Linked DNA regions of Homo sapiens: region 2 is linked to region 1. The links are contacts of gene promoters, found by promoter capture Hi-C in blood cells and fetal thymus (Javierre and others, 2016). All regions are on one chromosome and are shown on one strand. The core of a region is centred on a gene start or on the middle of the fragment in contact, and the rest is flanking DNA. Distances in the headings are between cores, read along the strand shown. Region 1 holds the start of UBL5 (ubiquitin like 5). Region 2 overlaps ZNF559 (zinc finger protein 559).

Region 1 (5,183 bases), core at 690-3,189:
AGACCTGTCTCAGATACTTTTTGGTTTACAAATTGTTTGACTGAATTGAGGAAGGACGGTCCTTGTCCCACCAGCCCTCACAAACCTGGAATCTGGTACAAAGTGCTCCCCAAAGATACAGCTGCAGGAGATTGTGCAAATGTGCAATGTTTCCAGTTACCTCGCAGGCATTTAAGGTTGGTGACTGGCAGTGAGAAAGGAGAATAGGGAAAATGAGGCAGAAGAATAGCAAAGGGAATTAAAAGTTGGATAAAGGGTAAAATACGTAAAAGCAGAGAGCAGAAGCAAGGTGAAAGGGCACCCGCCCCTTCTTGCTCACCCAGCAAGAAGCAAGATAAATGGCAGAAGCTGAGGAGACAAAACAAAAGGAAGATTAAAAACTGAGTAAAGGCCGGGCACAGTGGCTCACACCCAACACTTTGGGAGGCTGAGGCAGGCGGATCACGAGGTCAGGAGATCGAGACCATCCTGGCTAACACAGTGAAACCCCGTCTCTACTAAAAATACAAAAAAATTAGCCGAGGGTGGTGGGGGGCGCCTGTAGTCCCTGTTACTCGGGAGGCGGCTGAGGCAGGACAACGGCGTGAACCCGGGAGGCGGAGCTTGCCGTGAGCCCAGATCACGCCACTGCACTCCAGCCTGGGCGACAGAGCGAGACTCCATAAATAAATAAATAAATAAATAAATAAAATTAAAAAAAAAACAGTAAAAATCCCACGGCCGGGGAAATCAGGACCAAACCAGTAAGGAGCAGCTCTTTAGGCATAAGCACGCGCATTAAAGACAAAAAGTATCCTTAACATGATAAGGATAACCAGCTCATTAGCGCTCATGCATATGGACGGCATATCATGAATGGAGGCGGCTCTCAAGCACACAGGGGCCAAAGTAAGCAACACACCTATCATTCAAAAAGGTAGACACTGGCTAGATATTAGGCAGCCTTGGGAAGAGAAAAAAAGCCTGGCCAATAAGGTGAAACCCCATCTCTACTAAAAGTACAAAAATTAGCCGGGCGTGGTGGCGGGCGCCTGTAATCCCAGCTACTTACTCGGGAGGCTGAGGCAGGAGAATCGCTTGAACCCGGAAGGCGGAGGTTGCGGTGAGCCGGCACCGCGCCATTGCACTCCAGCCTGTGCAACAGAGCGAGACTACGTCTCAGAAAAAAAAAAAAAAAAAGACCCAAACTATACCAAGCTGGGGCTGATCTTATCTCGCAGAGGTCAGTCCGCTCTCCCCACTCCGAGAGTGGAATACTGTGCTTAATAAACTTGCAGCTTTGCCATCTCTGTGTGTCTGGTCCAAATCTTTCTTCAGGACACCAAGAGCCTGGAACTGTCCGGCACCATGCGGTAACAGCAGCTGTTGGGCAGCGTAGAGTCTACTCTAGGATCAAGCTTCGCCTACTGACTGGAGTCCGTATCCCGGGGGAACGCGATGGCCAGAGGGAAGAGGTGAGCCAAATGCTCACCAAGCCCAGCCCTGAATGAACCCAGGGGGTCAGAAGGGATGACTGCAGAACTCGTCCCCCACCCCCACCCTCCGCCCTTGCTCCTAGTTGCCGCTGCAAGAGGCTTCGGGCTCAGGATCAGGAGCTTACCCCTACTCCCGGGACCCTCTGGCGTCCCCACCATGTGACCGAGTCTCCCTGCAACAAACAATGACTTCAAACGAGCTGGGCGCCGGCGCCTGACCTCTGACTCTCGCTCCACGCCCCTTCCCTGGCCACAAACCCGCCGAGGCCCCCCTCTCTACCCGGCGCGCCTACCACAGGCGCGACACCTGTCAAGCCTTGGGACACCGAAACCGTACCTGGGAACAGCAAACACACCACAGACTGCAGACCCGGAAGAACTTGTCCCAGTGTTGACCACACCCCCTGGCTAGGGGCAGGGCTTCCGGCCTCGAACTTTAACTTCCGCTTCCGGTTCCTAGCGTTAACTGCGACCGGGGTTCAGCGCTCGGGTGAGGAGCTGGTGGCGTCGGCAGGTTCGAGGCGATTCGAGGTGAGGGGGTCAAGCGGAGAGGCTCGGAGTCGGAGAAAGCTGTCGCGACCCAGCCACCCAGGGTCTGGGGTCGGTGGGAGGTGAGGCCAGGGAGTTTTGTGGCAGGGCTTTCAGGCGGCGAGAAGGGGCGGAGGCGCGGCTCCCCGGGGTTCGCGGCCCTGGGACAGGGGACTTGGGGCCTGGGAGTATTCGAGTCCGGGGGGTTGGGGGCAGAACGGAAGGCTCAGTAACCTGGAATTTTAGGGCCTGGGACTGGGAGACTTGTAGGCTGGGGCTTCTGGGCCTGGGAGACGCCTGAAGCTCTGACTTTGCTGCCTCCCACCCACCCCCCGCTTTGTGTAGCTCCAGCTAGGATGATCGAGGTTGTTTGCAACGACCGTCTGGGGAAGAAGGTCCGCGTTAAATGCAAGTATCCACTGGCAGCCGAGAGGCAGTGGTACCCGCAGGGGTGCTTGGCGTGAGGCAGGCAACTCAATCTGTGTTGTCGGATGGTTTTAGTTAAACCCGGGAGAGGGGGCGGATGGGGTCCTGGCAGATGGTATTCTGCCCTAGAATGTCCTCTTCCTCGTTCTACCGCTTCCATTTGCCTTAACTGCTCTGCGCCCAGCACGGATGATACCATCGGGGACCTTAAGAAGCTGATTGCAGCCCAAACTGGTACCCGTTGGAACAAGATTGTCCTGAAGAAGTGGTGAGTGCAGCGGTAGAGCCACTGGGTGGACTGGACTAGGCCGGAAGGTTTTGGTTGGGGGAGCGCTGCAGGCAGCCCTTTGCTTAGGCTTGGCTACCTCATTTGGCCTACAGACTGAAGAGCCTCCTTAGCCTTATCTCTGAAATGTCTCTTTTTCTTAGGTACACGATTTTTAAGGACCACGTGTCTCTGGGGGACTGTATCCTTTGTGTGACTTTTTGAGGAAGCATCTACATACCCAGCCTCGGTTATCTGTTCAAAACTAAAGTCTGCATGAGCTTATGCATATTAAGTGTTTAACTTAATACGTGGCACATGGTGAGCACTTAGAAAATGGGAGCTAGGTAATTATTTGGTTGGGGAGGAGAGTGGTTGGTGAAATAGTTTGACTTCAAGTTCAAAATATTTATTACTGACCTCCACCTGAGTGCTGGACAGTAGGTCAGGGTGGGGTGAGACTCAGGCATATCTATTGTGCAAAAGGAGCAGAAACTTTTTACAATTTTTATTTTATTTATTTATTTTTTTGAGACAGTCTGGCTCTGTCGCCCAGGCTGGAGTGCAGTGGCACGATCTTGACCCACTGCAACCTCCACCTCCCGGGTTCAAGCAATTCTGCCTCAGCTTCCCAAGTAGCTGGGATTACAGGTGTGTGCCACCACTCCCTGCTAGTTTTTGTATTTTTAGTAGAGATGAGGTTCCACCATGTATGCCAGGCTAGTCTCAAACTCCTGGCCTCAAGTGATCCTCCCGCCTCGGCCTCCCAAAGTGCTGGGATTATAGCCGTGAGCCACTGTGCCTGGCCTAGAAGGAACAGAAACTTTTTTTTTTTTTTTTGAGATGGAGTTTTGCTCTTGTTGCCCAGGCTGGAGTGCAGTGGTACAATCTTGGCTCACTGCAGCCTCTACCTCCCAGGTTTAAGCGATTTTCCTGTCTCAGCCTTCCAAGTAGCTGGGATTACAGGTGCCCACCACCACACCCAGCTAACTTTTTGTATTTTTAGTAGAGACAGGGTTTCATCGTGTTGGCCAGGCTGGTCTCAAACTCCTGACGTCAAGTGAGCCACCTGCTTCGTCCTCTCAAAGTGCTGGGATTACAGGTGTGAGCCACTGCACCCAGCCAGAAATTCTTTTGTAAAGTTTTGGTTCTCTCCAAATAAAAATGGCCTGGTCCAAAATGGGCTTCCTTAGCCCTGGGCTGAGACCTCAGGCCACCTGACCCGGCTGTGAATGGATGAGAGGGGTGGGGACGGAAGTCAGAGTCAGGATTCCTTAACACCTTTCCTTCAGATGAAATCCACGATGGGATGAACCTGGAGCTTTATTATCAATAGATGAGAATCCTCATCTTCCTGCCCCGCTTTCCTCTCCCATCCTCATCCCCCACACTGGGATAGATGCTTGTTTGTAAAAACTCACCTTAATAAAGACTTAGATGTTGCTTTGTTGTTGTCTCTGTATGACAGCTGTCTAGTGATGGGTGGATCAGTCGCTGTTTGGTCATCACTGCACCATCAGCATGCAGCTGCTAAAATAAGAGCTCTGATCAACTGGATCCATGAGGGCAGAGTAGACCAGCAGGCTGGGAGTCTGTGTGGGAGCCCAGAGAGAGCTCTGGGGTTTGCTGTGGGTGTCTGAAGGTCAAGAGACTCTGGGATTATTGTCACCCTAATAAACCAAAGAACCTCCGGCTAATGACAGTAGATGTAATTGTTAGGAATTCAGATTCTGAAATCACACAGACCATGTGTGGAATGTCAGCTCTGCCACCAAGCAGCTGAGTGACACTAGGCAAAATTTTTTAACCTCTGTAAGCCTTTACTTCCTTATCCACTGGAAATAATTGCGTTTACTTCATGTCTGCTTTCAATCGGCATATTGTGAGGAGGTATAAATGAGTTTAAAGCATGTTTAAACATCCACAGTTCCTGGCATTTTTTTTTTTTCTTTTTTTGAGACAGGATCTTGCTCTGTCACCCAGGCTGGAATGCAGTGGTATGTTCATAGCCCACTGCAGCCCTGAACTGGACTCAACACAGTCCTCCTGCATCAGCCTCCCAAGTAGCTGGGCAGTGTGTACCACCACGCCAGCTAATTTTAAAATTATTATTATTATTTATTTTATTTGAGACAGAGTCTCGCTCTGTCACCCAGGCTGGAGTGCAGTGGCACGATCTCAGCTCACTGCAACCTCTGCCTCCTGGGTTCAAGCAATTCTCCTGCCTCACCTGAGGCAGGAGACTGGGACTACAGGCGTGCCCCATGACACCAGTTAATTTTTGTATTTTTAGTAGAGATGGGGTTTCACCATGTTGGCCAGGCTGGTCTCAAACTGCTGACCTCAAGTGGTCCACCCTCCTCGGCCTCCCAAAGTGCTGGGATTACAGGCGTGAGCCACCGCGTCTGGCATTTTGAAATTTTTTGTACAGACAGGGTCTCCCCTATGTTGCCCAAAATAGTCTTGAACTCCTGACCTCAGGTGATCCT
Region 2 (5,183 bases), core at 1,993-4,492, 490 kb before region 1:
AAGAACTATATGTGTAACAGTATGGATGACTCATAAACATAATGTTGAATCAAAAAAGCTAGACATAAATGAATAGATGATTTCATTTATAAAGTTTAAAAACAGACAAAATTAACCTATACCGTTAGAAGTGAGAATAGTTTCCATTTGCGAAGAGGGGCAATGATTTAGATGTGTCATGTGTGCATCAAGGTGTAGAAATTAATGATGCATTATACCTTTGTAATTCTACTCTTTTGTGAATATATATTTCAATTAAATGTTTAAAAAATTCAGATGTCATTTCCAGGTGTTTGAAAGAGATTAGCAAAATGAGTATAAAGAAAACATAACACTAAAAGCAACATTTAATGGGAAAAAAAGTAAAACTGATGAGTAAACCCAAGAGATAGGTTTTTTAGAAGTATAAAATTGGCTGGTCATGGCCAGGCGGGGTGGCTCATGCCTGTAATCCTAGCACTTTGGGAGGCTGAGGCCGGCGGATCACGAGGTCAGGAGGTCGAAACCATCCTGGCTAGCATGGTGAAACCCCTTCTCTACTAAAAATACAAAACAAATTAGCCAGGCATGGTGGTGGGCGCCTGTAGTCCCAGCTACTCGGGAGGCTGAGGCAAGAGAATGGCGTGAACGCGGGAGGCGGAGCTTGCAGTGAGCCGAGATCATGCCACTGCACTCCAGCCTGGGTGACAGAGCGAGACTCTGTCTCAAAAAAAAAAAAAAAAAATTAGCTGGTCATGGTGGCTCACACCGGTAATCCAGCACGTTGGGAGGTCAAGGCGGGAGGATCGCTTGAGCCCAGGAGTTCAAGATCAGCCTTTCCAACATTGCGAGGAACCCCTTCTCCATTCCAGCCCCACCACCAATCTCTGCCAAAAAAATTTTTAATTGGCCGGGTGTGGTGGTGGCTTTTGCCTGAAGTCCTAGCTACTCAGAAAGCTGGGGTAGGAAGATTGCTTGAGCCCAGGAGTTCAAGGCTGCTGTGAGCTTGATCCTACTATTGCACTCCAGCCTTGGGAAGAGTGCAGCCCTGTCTCCCCCATACCCCCAGAAAAATATAAAATAGACAAACTTTTGCACAATGTGTGATTCAGCATTTCATCCACCCCATACATTTTCTTTTTTCTTCTTTTTTTGTTGAGACAAGGTCTGGCTCTATCGCCCAGACTGGCATGCAGTGGCGTGATCTCAGCTCACTGCAACCTTTGCCTCCCAGGCTCAAGCCACCTTCCCACGTAGCTGGCACTACAGACACGTACCACCACACCTGGCTAATTTTTGTGGTTTTTGTAGAGACGGGGTTTTACCATGTTGCCCAGGCTGGTCTCAAACTTGTGAGCTCAAGTGATCTGCCTGCTTTGGCCTCCCAGAGTGCTGGGATTACAGGCATGAGTCACACCCCAAATATTTTCTACCCTCTGCTAGGACCTATGAATATTAAAAGAAAAACTTCAGATAAACGTAATAGTTAAGCATTAAAGGATTCGTGAATCAGGCAGCACTCCAAAACCAGAAGGGTTCAGGGGGCTCTGCTGTAGCAGCATGCACAGTTGGCTTTTGTAGACTGAATGTGAAAGCAAAGTAAAGAAATTACTTAATTGGCTTAGCCTTAGCAGTATTCTGAGTTTCTTTAGTGAACCATTATTATTACTCTATTGCTTTGGATAAAAAGTTGAGTGTCAACTTTTTTAGGGAAGCCAGATGTCAGTTTTCAAGTGTCTTATGGTTATTTTCTTATATTTTCTTGCCAGAACCAGTTCTGAGTCTGTAAATATACATTTATATGTGTGTGTGTGGTAGGGGAGGTGGAGGATGATATTACTTATCCATTCATCTATTTTTTTCCATAGTACTTGTCACCAATTGACATAATACATATTTATGGCTGGACACAGTGGCTCATGCTTATAATCCTAGCACTTTGGGAGGCTGAGGCAGGCGGATCACCTGAGGTTGGGAGTTCGAGACCAGCCTGACCAACATAGGGAAACCCTGTCTCTACCAAAAATACAAAATTAGCTGGGGTTGGTGGTGCATGCCTGTAATCCCAGCTACTCGGGAGGCTGAGGCAGGAGAATGGAGTGAACCTGGGAGGCAGACCTTGCTTGCAGTGAGCCAAGATCGCGCCACTGCACTCCAGCCTGGGCGACAGAGCGAGACTCCATCTCAAAAAAAAAACAAAAAAAAACTTATGTGTTTATTATCTGCTTAGCCCTTTAGAATGTGAGATACTTAAGGTCTAGGACATTTTTTGTATAGTTGACTGCTCTATCCTAAGTGTCTAGTACATTACCTCACAAAGATAAGGTCCTTCATAAATGTTTGCAGAGTGAATGAAAGCGTAAGCCAGAGATGAGGACTTGAAGGGAAGCCACCTGGCCTACATGATTTTTACAGCTGGAGGAGCTAAAGATGTCTAAATTCAATAAGCCATTTGTGTTGGGGGTCCTCAAGACCACCACCCTCACGCTCAGTGATGGAAGCACTCACAGGACTCAGAAGCTATTAAACCTACAGTTATGGTTTATTATAATAAAAGGGTACAGATTAGAATCTGCAAAGGGAAAAGATGAATGAAGTCTAGAAGAAACCAGGCTTCTCTCCCATGTAGTCACATGGACAGTGCTTAATTCTCCTAGTAAAAGTGTGTAGTATTCCTGCAAACTGTTGCCAACTAGGGAAGCTCACCTGAGCTTTGGTGTCCAGGATTTTTACTGAGGGTTAGTCCCGTAGGCATACAGCACCTGAATGACTTCATACACTTATGCCCAGCCCCTCAACAGTTCAAACTCATGCATTATTGCCAGAAGCCTCAGGCATACAAAAACAGGCCTTCAGCATAAATCATATTGTTAGCATACACAATCTGGTCACACTAGTATAGTTTGGCTCAATAGCTCAACCATAGAAAAATATACACTTACCAGGGAAGATATTCCATAAGCTAAAAGGTCATCTCTCACAAACTGAGCCAAGTGTCAGTCCTGAAGACAGATCTTTCTCAAGAGAGTGCAGGGTTTGGGCAACCCAGGCCTGTTGAGTTAACCTTTCCGTACATCATTTCATGACGATCTCATGGTCACGTTGGAGAATAAGAAGAACCTCAGGAGTTTAGGTTTGTGAGTCAGAGTAACCTGTATTCATATCCTGGCTCACACTTTCTAATTGGTGATGTTGGGTTAATTAGTGTCTGAGCTTAGGTTTCCTCAACTAATATGATAGTAACAAAAACTGCTTTGATAATTATATGAACTTATCCTACCACTGTTTCTGGCACATGGGTACTAGGTAAACGGGATTTGTTATTATTTATGTCCACGTGGCATAATACTCTAGTGGCACTCACATGAACAACTTCATCTTCTGCAGAGAGATGGCTAATGAATGGCGCTTGATGACAGATGAGTAATGCCTGTTGCTGAAAGATTGACGGTATGAGGCAAGACTCCCACTACTACTTAATCAAGAGGAATTGAGATTGACTTACCCATAAGTTCAGACAGTGTCTCGAAGAGACTTTGGGAACAAGATATTCAGGCACATTTCACTGTTAGACTCACAGGATGCTGGCCATTGGTCTTTCCCTTTGTGGTAAGTCCGTATTGATGGTCCTTCAAGACGCTGCTTTAACCAGTCTGTGAACAGCTTGTCTTGTGATTAGGGTTTAGGGTCTAAGTGGCCCTGCTTTTGAGATACCTAGAAGAGGCTAAAGTAGATACGAATATTCTGTGGTCTAAATCCTGGGATTTGGGAAGGAGGAGTAAGTATGCAGGCTTTTGTGGAAGAAGTTCTGCTTAATCACATGATCAGTTTCTTTTTTGGCAAATAAGGAAAATGTTAACTTCTCTGGACTTTGTATTCCTTATAAAATGGGATTGTTAAACTCTCTCTCTCCTGGTCATCAAAGCCTGAAGCATATTTTCTGGCTTCAGGTGAGACAGGCTGCTCAGGCATTTTATTATAACGTGTGTGTGTCCACTTAGCATTAGTATGAGGTGGCTTCTTGCCTTGTGAGTATGGAAGCTATCAGCAGCCTGGATTCTCAGATTTTATTTCTTCTTCTTAAGATCATCTTTCTCAAGATGTTTTCTGTCTTCATGAGTCAAAATTTGAAGAGGAAAGGATGGTGGCTGGGTGGTTGACAAATTACTCTCAGGTAAGTAGGAAATTGCTTTTTCTGTAGAAGCATATGCTTCTTCCTACCATGTAGATGTGTTTTCTCCTAGTGGAACAGGGCCCCTGCAAGCAAAGAGGGTCTGCTTAGGGACCACATCTCTCATCAAACTTCTTCGGACCACAGGGCCTCTCACATGGTTGACAGGTTTCACAGGGAAATGATTGTACTATCCCACTGTTTACTAATTCAGTCTGACTGTCATCCATGCTGATATGCTTTCATTTTGCTGTGATAGGGAGAGAATGCACATGTGCTTCTCGGAATTTGTGCTGTCACTGGAGCATTTATTTGAGTGTCTATAATGTATTCAGGGTTGTGCTAAAACCTGTCAGTAGAGAACAATAAGAAGAAGTCACAATCTAGTTGTGCTGAGATATATTCAGTTAGGTGAAAGAGGTGCTCTTCAAGCCATATGACTAGATGAGATCACCGGTGAATATGTACAGACAGGGGAGAAGAAAGTGAGGACCATCAAGTGATAGGAGACCAAAGAGTCTTGTCAAGGCATGCCAAGACAAGGTCCCTCATTCTCCAGTCAACATAGTGGAGAACGTACTTGCCTGACGCCAGCATGTGTGTGATGGTTTAGGACTCAGTGACCTTTGAGGATGTGGCTGTGGACTTCACCCAGGAGGAGTGGACTTTGCTGGATCAAACTCAGAGAAACTTATACAGAGATGTGATGCTGGAGAACTATAAGAATCTAGTTGCAGTAGGTAAGGCTGGTACCATTCTTTTCATTTAGTTTTTTTCTGGAACAAATGTGTCTTAAGTAACTATGTTCTAGACTCTGCTTGTTAATGGGCTGCATTGGTAAACAGGCGAAACATTGTTTCCATCTCATAGACCTTACTGCCTTGTGATTTTTCTGATGAAATTGAAGATCTGTTCATTGTTCTAGCTTTATTTTCTCCATGGATAAAAGACTTAGAGCTTCTTGAATATGTGTATGAGCTTAAGCCTGGGTTTCATGGGAAGGATTGCTAGTCCTTTTGGTGAACAGTGAATG

What was found. Contacts are between HindIII fragments. The CHiCAGO score rates a contact against its expected background, and 5 or more counts as called.
Region 2: a contact is called between a fragment that was not itself captured here and the fragment with the promoter of UBL5 in region 1, in 1 of 17 cell types (neutrophils). The highest score is 6.9, in neutrophils.

The regions. Positions count from the first base shown.
Region 1 is chr19:9,825,979-9,831,161 of GRCh38, forward strand. UBL5 (ubiquitin like 5) reads left to right here and starts at 1,940. Exons shown (of 5, transcript NM_001048241.3): 1 at 1,940-2,006; 2 at 2,349-2,415; 3 at 2,614-2,697; 4 at 2,859-2,896; 5 at 3,987-4,137. The coding sequence starts at 2,360. The coding sequence ends at 4,030. RefSeq lists enhancers at 1,522-2,246, 1,657-1,706 and a silencer at 1,750-2,056. The HindIII fragment of the contact is 5,434 bases long and covers 1,396-5,183 here.
Region 2 is chr19:9,334,430-9,339,612 of GRCh38, forward strand. It overlaps ZNF559 (zinc finger protein 559), which reads left to right. Exons shown (of 7, transcript NM_032497.3): 3 at 3,367-3,429; 4 at 4,065-4,153; 5 at 4,764-4,890. The coding sequence starts at 4,121. It overlaps ZNF559-ZNF177 (ZNF559-ZNF177 readthrough), which reads left to right. Exons shown (of 13, transcript NM_001384659.1): 3 at 3,367-3,588; 4 at 4,065-4,153; 5 at 4,764-4,890. Among named protein-coding and RNA genes, the nearest start is that of ZNF559-ZNF177, 13 kb to the left of the region's middle. The HindIII fragment of the contact is 9,717 bases long and covers 1-5,183 here.